Linked DNA regions of Homo sapiens: region 1 is linked to region 2. The links are contacts of gene promoters, found by promoter capture Hi-C in human tissues and cell types (Jung and others, 2019). All regions are on one chromosome and are shown on one strand. Each heading gives the region's core, a stretch centred on a gene start or on the middle of the fragment in contact. The rest is flanking DNA. Distances are from core to core; before and after follow the strand shown. Region 1 holds the start of POLR2L (RNA polymerase II, I and III subunit L). Region 2 holds the start of TALDO1 (transaldolase 1).

Region 1 (4,132 bases), core at 1,632-4,131, 95 kb after region 2:
TTTCATAGTTGTGTTGAGACAGAGTCTTACTCTGTTGCCCAGGCTGGAGTGCAGTGGTGCAAACACAGTTCACTGCAGTGGCAACCTCCCAGGTTCCAGTGATCCTCCTGCCTCAGCCCCGAGTGGCCGGGACTACAGGTGTGAACACTGTGCCCAGCTAATTTATTAAATTTTGTTGTAGAGATGGGGTCTCATTATGATGCCCAGGCGGGTCTTGAATTTCTGGACTCAAGTGATCCTCCTGCCTTGGCCTCCCAAAGTCCTGGGATTATAGGGGTGAGCCCCTTTGCCCGGCCTAAATCTGGCTCTTCAGATTCCGAGAGAGAGGGTACAGGAGCCTCTCTGCTCAGCCTGAAGAACACCCAGAAGGAGGGAACCTCAAAGAGCCCCGAGATGGAAGGCTCTCCTGGCAGCGCCTCCTGCAGGGGTGCCTGTGGAACAGGCTGGCCCCAGGGCTAGGAGAGTTCATGGCCCAGTCTGCTTCACTGGGCTGCCACAGTGTGAAAGCTGGGCCTAGACCTGGCTCCTGACATCCTAGTGAGGGCTGGGACCTTAGTGGTTCTGAAAGACCTTTACTGGATGGTTCCTTCCAGAGTGGGGTATCGGATACACACACACTGCGGCCAGGCATTACGCCAGCTCCCGGATGCCTCAGCCTCGTGAATTCGGGGCAGGACGCTCAGGGCCCATGGTCAGCACAGCGGGTGGGTGGGTTCCAGCGTGGTCACTTCTCCAGGGGTGCATAATTGAGCAGCTTCTCGATCAGGTCCACGTGGGCCAGCAGCATCCGGCGGCAGCAGTAGCGCTTCAGGCCCAGGGCATCCAGCGCATCCCTGTGTCGAGGGGAGGAGCAGAGGCCAACTGAGTTCTCTACGGTCTGCAAAGGCCTGGAGCCCACATCCAACCTGCCTCTCACTGCCTGCTGGCCTCACCCCCCCCGCCACCGGCAAGGCGAACAGATTCACCCGGCTCAGAAGCTGAGATCTAGCAGTATGATCCTGGCTGGAGTAACCTGGAAATGCCCAGAACCCTGGGTGGAGCGTGAGGAGCCTCCTCTCCCACCTACTCTGGCTGTACGTGTGTGTGTATAACGTATGTAAGAAATGTAAATGAAATGAAAACGAAGTAATTGCGGGGAGCTTAGAAAACCAAGACCACCAAGGTGCTGATGTGCAGCCACCTCATCCAGCACTGGCCACGGCAGGGTAGCTCTCCAGGGGCCTGCCCTTAGCTGGTTCACCCCCACCCCAGCCAGAGCAAGCCCTGCTCTGCCGCTGTGGGGTCTTTCCTCACCTCTGCTTCCTTCCATCAGAGAGAGACTGCTTCTCCACGGAGCCACCTCTCCCACTTCCCAAGCCAATTAGAAGCTTTCATTTCCCTGGGACCTAGCTCCAGTCACCCTCAAGACCTCCAGAAAACTCCCACACCGATGGCTCCAATGTGCAGAGACACAGAAGCTTGGGAAAGGGGAGGCCACATGGGAGGCCCCTGCCGTTCCTATCCGGGGAAAGGGTCTGGACAGGCCGCCAGCCACTCAGTCTAGCAGCCCACTCGCTTTCCTCGTTTGTCCAGCAAGCTGCACCAAGTGCCGATGGCAGGCTGGCGCACACAAGCCCAGGGCTTCACATGTGACGAAGACTCAGTGGGCGAGGGTCAGACTCCAGCGGGGGCACCAAGACTCAGGCACCGTGGTGACAGCAGCACCAAGGGACAAGCACAGGAGAAAGACGCCTCCCCTACAAAGCCTGATGAGGGTGGTCAGCAAGTCTACCCTGCATTTCTTTTTCTGTGTGTGTGTGTGCGTGAGACGGAGTTTCACTCTCTCTTCCAGGCTGGAGTGCAGTGGCGTGATCTTGGCTCACTGCAACCTCCACCTGCCTCCCAGACTCAAGCGATTTTCTCGTCTCAGCCTCCCAAGTAGCTGGGACCACAGGTGTGCACCGCCATGTCCGGCGAATTAAAAAGATAGAGCCAGGCGCGGTGGCTCACGCCTGTAACCTCAGCACTTTGGGAGGTCGAGGCGGGTGGATCACCTGAGGTCAGGAGTTCCAGACCAGCCTGGCCAACATGGCGAAATCCCATCTCTACTGAAAATACAAAAATTAGCCGGGCGTGGTGGCACACGCCTGTAGTCCCAGCTACTCGGGAGGCTGAGACAGGAGAATTGCTGGAGCCCAGGAGGCGGGGGTTGCAGTGAGCCGAGATCGCGCCACTGCACTCCAACCTGGGCGACGGAGCGAGACTCCGTCTCAAAAAAGAAAAATAAAATAAAATAAATTTCTGGAGATCAGGGTCTCCCCAGGTTGTCCAGGCTGGTCTCGACCTCCTGGGCTCAAGCAAGCCTCTCGCCTCGGCCTCCCAAACTGCTGGGATTACAGATGTCAGCCGCCGCGCCCGCCCGTCCTGCAGCGAGGTTTGCAGGACATGGGGTGGGCCTGGGGGCAGAGATGGGAATAGGGCGGAGGCCAAGGGCTTTACTGCGGGTGACAAGACGCCTGCGACCCGCCAGGCCACCTAGAATCCCCAGGACACCACTGGTTTGAAGCCCAACTCCGTTCTCTTCCCCAGACTTCAGGGGATAAGGTTCTCCCGAAAGCAGATCACAGAGCGGGGCTGGAGAAGCCGGGCCTGAAGCTGCTCATGGGGCGCTGGCCTCAGGCAGCGCTGCGCCTCCCGCCCCGGCGCGCACCCCAGGGCGGACTCAGCCCCCAGCCCCGGCCCGCGCCCCACGGCGGACTCAGCCCCTAGCCCCGGCCCGCGCCTCACCCCTCGGTGTACTCGGCCTGCAGCAGCCCCAGGTAAGCCTCCCACTTGTTGCCGACGATCTTGCCACAAGTGAAGCAGCGTACAGGGATGATCATGGCGGCGGCGCGTCCCAGACTGCCCGGCCCGGCCCGGCCGCACGCGAAGAACCCCCCCAGGCCCCGCCCCGGGCGCGTCCACTGTTGCGGGAGAATCGGCTCCGCTCGTTCTCCGCTGTTCCGGCCGTCCCTCCACCGGCCCCGCCACCGCTGGCCGCAGTTTCCGCCGCGATAGGGGCTTCCCGTGCGTCCCGGGGCTCCTGGGCCTGTGCGTCCCGGGGCTCCCGGGCCCGCGCGGCCGCGGCAGCAGCAGACCGCACACCCCCGCCCACCGTCTTGGTGCATCCCGGCGCTACGGCGTCTGAGCAGGGCCGTAAAGCTGCGGCGGCGGTTCGCGTTTCTCGTGTCCGCTTGACTGACAGCTGCGCGGCGGGAGCGGGCGGCGCGAGCGGGAGGCGGCGGCGCAGGTACTGCGCCTGGGGGTTGTGGGGGCGTGCGGCCAGGGTCCCGTGGCCGGAGGTGTCCGACCGGGAGCGGCTGGAGCCGGACGCGAGCGGGGCGCGCGAGTTCGAGCCCAGAGCCGACACGCAGCAACAAGTGGGGTCCGGCGCGGGGGCTCGGGGAGAGGGCGGGCGGGGGCCGGGGCGGGTCTTCCTGCCGCCCCTCCTGGCCGCGCCGAGTAGTGGGTTCCTCCGCCTCGGCCTCTGCCCGCGGGGTGTCCGGGGCTCTCGGCGCTGAGTTCGGGGGTCCCATTCTGGACGCGGCCCAGCCCCTAGGGGCGCCGCCCTGGCCTCAGCTGCGCAATTACAGCCCCCGCCGGCAGCTCCCCGCCCCGGGCTCCTGTCCGCGTTCTTTCCGCTCTTTCCCGGGAATGGGGTCGGGGTGCGCCCTCCCGGGTCCCGGCTCTGCTGGCTGCTCGCCGTCCCGAGCTCCCGACGCTCAGACGCGCCTCTGAGCACGGGGAGAGGGGACCCGGGAGGGAGGTCGGGGAGGGAGTCGTGGAAGAGGTGCTTTTTGAGCTGAACCTGGAAGACCCCGGCACAGGGGATCCCTGGGCAGACTCCCGGAGGCTGCACTGGCAGGACCCCCTGAAGGCCTCAGCTCTGGCTTGCCCTGGAGCTCAGGGCCTACGGACGACGAGGGACGAGGAGCCCGTGTCTCTCGGATGGAGTGCGGGGGGGCTGGCACCAGCACCCTTCTTGCTGTGCCCCTGGGGTGGGGGTGAGGAAATGGGGGGTCGGTGTGCAGTGAGAGGCAAAGAAGGCTCCTTGGAGGTGCGAGGTGGGCTGTGGGGGTGGGTGGGCCGCAAAGCGGCACCCATGGGGGGCTCT
Region 2 (3,870 bases), core at 529-3,028:
CACCAGCCACCAAGTTAGAATGAGAGGGGCTGGAAGTCTAAATATTATCAGCCATTATTCTGGAGGTCATAAGATAAGATTTGCAACTTCCCCAAGATATCAACACTACTGTGAACCTAGGGTTGGCCTTTTTTTTTTTTTTAAATGGAGTCTCGTTCTGTAGCCCAGGTTAGTGTACAGAGGGACAATCTCGGCTCACTGCAACCTCCACCTCCCAGGTTCAAGCCATTCTCCTGCCTCAGCCTCCCAAGTAGCTGGGATTACAGCCATGTGCCACCACGCCTGGCTAATTTTGTATTTTTAGTAGAGACGGGGTTTTGCATGTTGGCCACGCTGGTCTCCAACTCCTGACCTCAAGTGATCGCCTGCTTTGGCCTTTCAATGTGCTGGGATTCCAGGCCTGAGCCACCGCGTCAGCCTAGGATTTGCCTTTTAAGAAGTCTTTTCCGCCGGGCGCGGTGGCTCACGCCTGGAATCCCAGCACTTTGGGAGACTGAGGTGGGCGGATCACGAGGTCAGGAGATCGAGACCATGCTGGCCAACATGATGAAACCCCGTCTGTACTAAAAATACAAAAATTAGCCGGGCGTGGTGGTGAGCGCCTGTAATTCCAGCTACTCGGGAGGCTGAGGCAGGAAAATCGCTCGAACCCGGGAGGCGGAGGTTGTAGTTAGCCAAGATCGCGCCACTGCACTCCAGCCTGGGCAACAAGGGCGAGATTCCGTCTCAAAAAAAAAAAAAAGTCTTTTCAGGTTTTTGCATTTCTGACAACCGGATGGCCCCACCTGGACCTGCCAACCAGTTGTGTGGCCTCTACCCAGGGACTGACTCAGCATAAGCGGACAGCTTCGACTCCCTGTGATTTCATCCCTAGCTGACCAGTCAGCACTTCTGACTCACTGGCCCCCTACCCACCAAATTATTCTTAAATACTGGGATCCCCGAGTTTTGGGGAGACTGATTTGAGGAATAAAACTCTGGTCTCCCGAACAATCGGCTCTGTGTGAATTATGCTTTCTCTATTGCAATTCCCCTGTCTTGACAATAGACTCTGTCCCGGCAGCTGGCAAGGCGAACCCATGGGGCGGTTACAGTGTCTGCAACGCAGACACAAGCGACAGAGACTTGATCAGAATATACAAGGAACTCTGCAAGTCAGCGATGGTAAGAAGCAGGGCAGCTGGGCCTCCTACGCCTGCCTCGCCGTTCGGTCCCCCGGACACCTCTGGGCTTAGGACTCAGGGGAACAGATTCCCAGAAGCAGGTTCCCCGCCGCGTCCGGCGCCCGGGCTCTGCAGCCGCCCCCTGCTCTGCCTCCTGCACCCGCAGGGCGTCCCCCGCCGCTCCCTCCCCTGCTTCCTGCAGCGGCCCCCGACCCCAGTCCTGGCCCCACCATGGATCCTGCATCGCCGGGTTCGGCCCTGGCGGGTTCAGCCCCGCAGAGTCGGCACCCGGGCCAGGTCCATCTCCTCCAGCCCTCCCGGTGCGTCCCGCGGGGCAGGAAGGAGGCGAGGCCCAGCCGCCCCGTGTCGTGCAGGTGTTTTCCCGGGCCCGTCCGCGGCGGCTGCTGAGGACCTGGGGAGACCCAGCCTGTAGGATCCGCAGCTGCGGTGCGCGGCCGGCAGTGGCGCTCGGGCTTCGTCCCCGGGGGCGGGGCTTCGTCCAGGCGCGCAGGGACCAGCGGGCCTCGCCCTCCCGCGCCGCTTTCCGATTGGCAGCCGCCCGCGGGGCATTGTGGGCCGTCCGCGCGCCCGTCCCGTCGCCGCCGCCGCCGCCGCAGACCCCTCGGTCTTGCTATGTCGAGCTCACCCGTGAAGCGTCAGAGGATGGAGTCCGCGCTGGACCAGCTCAAGCAGTTCACCACCGTGGTGGCCGACACGGGCGACTTCCACGGTGAGGACGGCGCGGAGCCCGGGCGCGGCGCAAGCGCCCTCCAGAGGCCCCGGCGCCCCGATTTCCCCGGGTCTCCCGTTCCGGGACGCGGACCGGGTGGCGGTGCCCCGGGCGGCTCGTTCCGGGAGGAATGAGCGCAGGTGCCGGATGTTGGGGCCAGGGACAGCCGTGAGGGGAGCGGGGCCCGGGTCGGCCGTGAGAGGCGCAGGGCCAGCGGCGACCGTGAGGGGAACGGGGCCCGGGTCGGCCGTGAGGGAGCAGGGCCGGGGGCAGCCGTGAGGAGCTGGGGTCAGCCGTGAGGGGCTCGGTGCTGGGGTCAGCGGTGCGGGCGGTACTGACGGGTCCTTGCGAGCCGTGGGGCACGAAGCCGGAGCCCCAGCCTCGCCCTCCGCCCAGGGTGGGGTCGGCTGCGCCCTCAGACCCCGCACCCGGGACGGGCTGTGGGCAGCCCGCGGGAGCCCCTCTGTGCACCTTCATGGGTCGAGGCAGCTTTCAGAGCCTTTGAGTTCAGGAGAGATTCAGGGTAGAGCTTCGAGCTGACTTCCACGTGGCCAGTTTGTGGTCAGCGAGATGCAATTTTGTTGGGCTGATGTCTGCAGAGCGGGGACATCAGCTAGCTCTGACCAGAAGCTGCCAGTGCTGCCATCGCCCTTGAGCCCTGCGGTGCCCAGTGGGACAACTCCGTGGGCGGCAGGTGCCCGGCCTGCTGGACAGCCACCGCCAGACGCACCGGGTGGGTAAAAGCCGGTGCCCATGAAAGCACAGGGTTGGTACACTGTTAAATACTGGATTTTCCTGGGCTTGAGTTGTTTACATTGGAGAGAACTTGGAAAATACAAAGAAGGATTATTTATTAATACTTAGCTCTTCTGTCCTCTGCAGTGCAGAGTAGACGAGCCTTGTGTCTATGTTTTGTTGAGAACAAGTAATATTTTTTAAGAAAATCATGAAACGCTTCATGGATGAATGCTGCGAGCACCTAATACGGAAGTGACTTCCTCTCTTTTCTGCTTTCTCATGGTGACTTGAGAAACAGGCTTTAATTCCTCTTTGGTAACTGAGTAAGGGCATTGTTTATCTAGCAGAGCCTAGAGAGTGAATTGGCATGTTTGGCTGCTTAACCATAAAATATGGGGATTCAGTGACTGGCTTGGGGTGCCACAGTCTGCTCCGGACCCCTCTTTGGGAGATCCAAAGCTAGAGCTGTGAATCCCTCACACACACAGCCCCCCCGTTGTAGTCCAGACCTCTCTTCATAAGAAAGAAAGCTCCAGAAAAGGGGCTACACATTTTTCTGCTGCTCAGTTTTTTCCCTTCTTAGCACTGAGAATAATTTGCAGTTTGCCTGGTGGACAGAGCGCTCATCTGTATTGTTCCTTACTGGCCCTCACCAGTTAGGGCAGAGCTGGTGCGGAGTGTCAGGTCCATTACACTTGGCAGTGCAGGGCCAATAAAGATGGATTTTCCTAAACCCACACCCACAGGAGGGCTGGGGAGTCCTGGGTTTCTGGTTTTGTTTTGTATTGTTTTTTAAGAAAACTTCTGGCCCAGCGAGGTGGCTCACGCCTGTAATCCCAGCACTTTGGGAGGTTGAGGCAGGTGGATCACGAGGTCAGGAGTTCGAGACCAGCCTGACCAACATGGTGAAACCCCGTCTCTACTAAAAATACAAAAATTAGCTGGGTGCGGTGTTGCATGCTTGTAATCCCAGCTACTTGGGAGGCTGAGGCAGGAGAATTGCTGAACCCAGAAGGCGGAGGTTGCAGTGAGCCAAGATCACACCACTGCACTCCAGCCTGGGCGACAGAGCAAAACTCCGTCTCAAAAAAAAAAAAAAAAAAATCTTCTAAACCCAAGTTGTGACATTTTTTTTTAATGAATATTAACAAAAAAATACATTCATTGATAGTATATGTTCATAAATGTTATATAGTTGTAAAATAGTCTGTTGGGTTTGTGATCTGTAGTTTGTGAAGT

What was found. The method cuts DNA at HindIII sites, captures the fragments that hold promoters and counts their contacts. A contact is called where the count stands out against the background at its distance.
Region 1: the fragment with the promoter of POLR2L here is called in contact with the fragment with the promoter of TALDO1 in region 2 in 9 of the 25 tissues and cell types used here (adrenal gland, dorsolateral prefrontal cortex, heart left ventricle and 6 more).

What each region holds. Positions count from the first base shown.
Region 1 is chr11:839,648-843,779 of GRCh38, forward strand. It overlaps POLR2L (RNA polymerase II, I and III subunit L), which reads right to left and starts at 2,882. Exons shown (of 2, transcript NM_021128.5): 1 at 2,767-2,882; 2 at 74-833. The coding sequence starts at 2,861. The coding sequence ends at 725. It overlaps TSPAN4 (tetraspanin 4), which reads left to right and starts at 3,205. Exons shown (of 9, transcript NM_003271.5): 1 at 3,205-3,268. RefSeq lists silencers at 366-415, 2,644-3,273, 3,384-3,473, 3,494-3,723, 3,709-3,877 and enhancers at 1,141-1,885, 1,886-2,631, 2,632-3,375. The HindIII fragment of the contact is 28,886 bases long and covers 1-4,132 here.
Region 2 is chr11:745,686-749,555 of GRCh38, forward strand. It overlaps TALDO1 (transaldolase 1), which reads left to right and starts at 1,779. Exons shown (of 8, transcript NM_006755.2): 1 at 1,779-1,893. The coding sequence starts at 1,797. LOC105376509 (a long non-coding RNA gene) reads left to right here. Exons shown (of 3, transcript XR_930962.3): 3 at 1,064-1,277. RefSeq lists enhancers at 763-1,411, 1,050-1,109, 1,412-2,060 and silencers at 1,240-1,839, 1,900-2,189, 2,290-2,379. The HindIII fragment of the contact is 22,782 bases long and covers 1-3,870 here.